2 separate regions of the Homo sapiens genome follow, and region 2 is linked to region 1. The links are contacts of gene promoters, found by promoter capture Hi-C in human tissues and cell types (Jung and others, 2019). All regions are on one chromosome and are shown on one strand. Each heading gives the region's core, a stretch centred on a gene start or on the middle of the fragment in contact. The rest is flanking DNA. Distances are from core to core; before and after follow the strand shown.

What was found. The method cuts DNA at HindIII sites, captures the fragments that hold promoters and counts their contacts. A contact is called where the count stands out against the background at its distance.
Region 2: a contact is called between the fragment with the promoter of ING5 here and the fragment with the promoter of OR6B2 in region 1, in 1 of the 25 tissues and cell types used here (bladder).

Annotation. Positions count from the first base shown.
Region 1 is chr2:240,029,045-240,031,747 of GRCh38, reverse strand. OR6B2 (olfactory receptor family 6 subfamily B member 2) reads left to right here and starts at 1,319. Exons shown (of 1, transcript NM_001005853.1): 1 at 1,319-2,257. The coding sequence starts at 1,319. The coding sequence ends at 2,257. The HindIII fragment of the contact is 5,539 bases long and covers 1-2,242 here.
Region 2 is chr2:241,700,766-241,703,465 of GRCh38, reverse strand. It overlaps ING5 (inhibitor of growth family member 5), which reads right to left and starts at 1,427. Exons shown (of 8, transcript NM_032329.6): 1 at 1,364-1,427. The coding sequence starts at 1,400. RefSeq lists enhancers at 309-938, 1,177-2,009 and silencers at 664-1,223, 1,408-1,571, 1,314-2,133. The HindIII fragment of the contact is 25,906 bases long and covers 1-2,700 here.

The DNA of each region.
Region 1 (2,703 bases), core at 70-2,569:
CAAAGCTCACTACCCCCACCGCCAGCTCTCCCCAGCAAACCCAGTCAACAGGTGGGGGCTGCTGGCCTTCCAAGGAGCTCCTGTGGACCCCAACTTTCCTCCTTGTGGACTTTAAAGCCCCCTGTGGCCACTCAGCTGGGAAGAGGACACAGTCACCACCCTGGATGGTGTCTAGAGAGGCTACATTCAGACTCACATCTTGAGACCCCTTTAATGGCAGGGGTTCTTATTGCTTTTGTTTTGGGGAGACAGTAGGCGGTGACTGGAGTGAGTAGTAAATGCTTGTGAAATTGATCCTAAACTCTGAACTGCACGCTGGCATTTTAAGGCAGGGAATGGCCATGCCGCCCCAGTGGATGATCTTGGGTTCCCACAGAATGCTCACCCTAGACGGCAGGAGTACAGGTGCGTTTCCAAGTGTAAACCTGTCCCTGGGCAATTCCCTTCTAGAAGTTTGTTTTTCAGCCTGCAACTCTTCCATGAACTCGACTTGTCTAGCCAACCCCCTACACGTCACCATGAGGCTCTCCAGTAAGTGCCGCGCACCACGCCTCCCCAGCACAGACTCCAGATTATTCGGCACCCACCTGGCCCTCTCCTAGTCTTCTCATCAATTTTTAGCATCCTGGGCCAGAAACCTGGGGTCACCCTCCCCAGCTGTGAGCTGGTGGAAGTCTGCCATTCAACCCACCTAGACTGCCAATGAAAAGAACCACCAGATGCCCTGTGGGGCAAGGGGCTGTGGCTACCCTCTCTCTCCCCCACCTGTGGACCAGGTCCCCCAGAGCCAGGCAGCCCTTTCCTGGGAGCCCTCCCTGCATTCCTCCGGCTGGTTAGCCCAGTTTGGGGTTCTGCCCTGGTAGGCTGATAGCCCCTCACCTCATGCCGAGGCTGCTGCCCCGACTTGCAGGAACCCTCAGATGAAGGACCCTAAGGAGGGCCAGCTCTGTGTCCATGCCCACTTGGATCTTGAGAGCTGCCCCAGGCACGTGTGGACTGGTAGTGCCCCTGGACTCAGAGCTTTGGGTTTTGCCCACCCTGGAGCTGCCCGGCTCTGTTCCTCAGCATATACTCTCTTCCTCATTCCTACTTCATGGTTATATGTAAATGCAAGCACACAGAAGTTTTCTACTTTAAAACTCAGAAGATCAGCAGATCACTGCTCTCTCCTGGTGCTCTGGGGAGCCACGTGGCCTCTCTTTGCACCAAAACTCCCCATCCAAGTCCAGCTCCACTCTCTCTCTGCCTCAGCTGCCCTGCAGCCCTTTCCTCTTGCTCTTTGATGTTTTGTAGGCCTGCAGCTCCCAAGCACAGAGGCATGAGTGGGGAGAATGTCACCAAGGTCAGCACCTTCATCCTGGTGGGCCTCCCCACGGCCCCAGGGCTGCAGTACCTGCTCTTCCTCCTCTTCCTGCTCACCTACCTCTTTGTCCTGGTGGAGAACCTGGCCATCATCCTCATCGTCTGGAGCAGCACCTCCCTCCACAGGCCCATGTACTACTTTCTGAGCTCCATGTCTTTCCTGGAGATCTGGTACGTGTCTGACATCACCCCCAAGATGCTGGAGGGCTTCCTCCTCCAGCAGAAACGCATCTCTTTCGTCGGGTGCATGACGCAGCTCTACTTCTTCAGCTCCCTGGTGTGCACCGAGTGTGTGCTTCTGGCCTCCATGGCCTACGACCGCTACGTGGCCATCTGCCACCCGCTGCGCTACCACGTCCTTGTGACCCCGGGGCTGTGCCTCCAGCTGGTGGGCTTCTCCTTTGTGAGTGGCTTCACCATCTCCATGATCAAGGTCTGTTTTATCTCCAGCGTCACGTTCTGTGGCTCCAACGTCTTGAACCACTTCTTCTGTGACATTTCCCCCATCCTCAAGCTGGCCTGCACGGACTTCTCCACTGCAGAGCTGGTGGATTTCATCCTGGCCTTCATCATCCTGGTGTTTCCGCTCCTGGCCACCATACTGTCATATTGGCACATCACCCTGGCTGTCCTGCGCATCCCCTCGGCCACCGGCTGCTGGAGAGCCTTCTCTACCTGCGCCTCTCACCTCACCGTGGTCACCGTCTTCTATACAGCCTTGCTTTTCATGTATGTCCGGCCCCAAGCCATTGATTCCCAGAGCTCCAACAAGCTCATCTCTGCCGTGTACACTGTTGTCACGCCAATAATTAACCCTTTGATTTACTGCCTGAGGAACAAGGAATTTAAGGACGCCTTGAAAAAGGCCTTGGGCTTGGGTCAAACTTCACACTAAGACAACTAAATGTCCTAGAGTAAAATCTGTAGTGATGAAACAACATTGTATGTGGCACTTTGTGCTCTTTAAATTAATTTTTAAGTTAAATTTAACAAACCTACAGAACTAAGTGAAATTTAACAAACCTACACAACTGTGCACAAGTAACAAGCCTTCGTCTGCATATGTTTTCACAAAAGGACTGTGCTCATGGAACCAGCTCCCAGATCAAGAACTAGAAGCTGCCTTCACGCCCTCTCCCAGTCATTAACCCTTCTCCACAAAAAGCACTGTCCTGACTTCCAAAACCAGATGCTAGCATTGGTGTTTCTGAGGGGCTTACACATAAAGTATGTGCCCTGTTATGTTCAGCTTCTTTCATTCACCGTGTTGCTTGAGTGAATCCTTGATGTTTTTGCATGTAACAATAATTCATGCATTCTCATTGCTATCCAATATTCATA
Region 2 (2,700 bases), core at 178-2,677, 1.7 Mb before region 1:
TGCCAGGAGGACCCCCGTGCTGCTTTCGCGTCTGCTTTGTTACCCCCTAGACCAGGCCAACCTCCGCCCCCTGCACAGCTGACACAGGCTCCTAAGGGGGGCTGCCTCCTCCAGTCTTGGCCACCCTCCCATCTGCTGTTCACAGTTACCAGGCAATCATTTTAAACCTAACTCTATCTTATGCATCTGATGCTTCCAGCCCCAGTGTTTTCCCAGCTCCCCTAGAGGACAGAGGCACAGCCTCCCGGCTGGCACAGCCTCCCAGACACACACAAAGTCAACCCTCCTTGGGAGGCCAGCCCACTGGCTGGGCACCAGGATAGAGAAGGCCTCCCCTCCAGCGTGCTCCCCAGCTTGACTCTTCTACCCAGGGAACCCCCCACTACTCAGACCCCCAAGAGACAGCGGAGCACATGGGCAGAATCGGGCGTCCCTCTAGGGCAGCGGTCTCCAGCTCCAGGCCACGGCTCACTCGCCACTGTCTCAGCCCCTGGGCGGGTGCCAGGCCGAAGACCATGAGGATCCCCAGTGCAGCGCCCCCACAAGGGCCCTCCAGAGCCACCCGGCACAACCCCAAACACCGCGACCCCAAAGCTGTGCCCATCCCGGGCCGACGTCAGGGGTCCCGCGTGGGGTCTGCCCCTCTACGAGCGGGAGACCCTGAGCAGGCTGCTCGGCAGCGCTGGACCTTCCCTGGTGTGTAAAGTGAGGGAAAGCACCGTCCGCTCAGCCGCTGGGGGCGCCGACCTGCTGCCACCTGGAAACAGCACAGCCCGCCCACCAGGGCCGACTCGGCACCGCCCTCCCCGCCTCCGCGCCGCAGTCCCCAGTGCCGGGGAGAGACGCCCCGCGGCCCGCACGCCCTCCCCAGCCGCGGTCACACAAGAGGCCGGCGCACACGGGCGCACAGCCAGGCGGAGGCCCAGACCCCGGAGCCCCCAAGGCCCGGAGCCCCGCAGCGGGCGCCAGCTCCTCCTGCAGACGGGACAGGGACGGGCGGGACCTGGCGGGGCCGGGGCCGGAGCTGGGGGCGGAGATGAGGCGGGGCCTGGGTAGGGGCGGGACCTAATATGTGGGCGGGGTCGAGGCCGCAAGCCCCGCCCAGCATCGCCAGGCCCCGCCCCGCCGTGACGCACCTGGAATTGGCGCGACCCAGCCGGCGGGACCCCCCGCGCCCGCCCCCCGCGCCCTCCCCTCCCTTGCGGCCCTGCCCCGCCCCGTCCGCGCGCCCCCCGTCGCGCCCGGCCGCGCCCGCCGCCCTCCCGAGCCCACGGGGTCTGCATGCGGTGCCCGGCGCGCGGGGGGCTGCGGCACGGAGGACTCCGCGTGGGCGGCGGGCGCGGGGCCCGTGGGGCGCGCTTACTGTCCAGATAGTGCTCCAAGTACATGGCGGTCGCCATCTTCGTCCGCGGCCGCGCTCGGGGTCTGCGCGGGCGGGCGGTGCCGCGGGAGGCGGGGGCGGGGCGGTGCCAGCGCGCTCACTATTCATGAGTCGCGCGCGCTGATTGGTCGCGCCCGGGGGCGGGGTCGGACACGCCTTTCAGCTTCCGGCGGGCGGCGGGCTGCGGGGCCCGGGCGGAGGTTGTGGCAGCGGCGTCGGGCAGCGAGCAGGACCCAGGGCCGCAGCGGATCGGAGGCCGAGGAGGAGCAGGGGTTCCCGGCCCCACCGCCCGGCGTGCGGCCCAGGGCACCCAGGTGGGCGTCTCCCCTCCGCACCTGTCAGCGACCCCTGGGCCACCAAACGCAAACACGTGGTCCCGGGGACCTCACGCCCGTCCTGACGGCGCCCACGCGACCCCTGCTCCCGGCCGGGTCCCGGACAGGCCGCCACGAGGCCCTCCCTTCCCGAAGGCTCCTTGGGACCTGTCTGGCTCAGCGCCTTTCCCCCGGACCCCGAGCCCCCGGGGCCTCAGCCCGGCCTGAGCCGAGGGCCGGCACCGCGTGGCCCGGGCGAGCTGCCCCTCCCTCAGGGCCTGGGCCCTGGCGCCCTTCCCCCGCCAACGCCGCCCCTTCCCTCCGAGGAAAGCGGCCGCCCCGCCCAGCACCAGTGAGGGCACTGGCTCCTTTGCTGCCACCTCTCGAGGCAGGCAGGACCCGCACCATCTGGATGCCTTGGCCGAAAAGGCACGTGCGGCAGTATGATATAGTTAATAAGATGGCGTGCAAAGGTGTGCCGTAAGATGCATGCAAAAATACTGGAGAAGGCCGGCGCGCTGGCGCACGCCTGTAATCCCATCACTTTGGGAGGCCGAGGCGGGCGGATCACTTGAGGGCAGGAATTTGAGACCAGCCTGGCCAACGTGTTGAAACCCCGACTCTACTAAAAATACAAAAAAAAAAAAAAATTAGCCAAGCGTGGTGGCGCACGCCTGTAGTCCCAGCTACTCCGGAGGCTGAGCCCGGGAGGCGGAGGTTGTAGTGAGCTGAGATCGCGTCTGCACTCCAGCCTGGGCGACAGAGCAAGACTCTGTCTTCAAAAAAAAAAAAGAAAATTTTAAGAAAAAAAAAATACTGGAGAAACATAATTAAAATATGTTTCAGACTCGGCACGGTGGCTCACGCCTGTAATCCCAACACTTTGGGAGGCCGAGGCGGGCGGATCACTTGAGGGCAGGAATTTGAGACCAGCCTGGCCAACGTGGCGAAATCATGTCTCTACTAAAAATACAAAAATTACCCGGGCGTGGTGGCGGGCGCCTG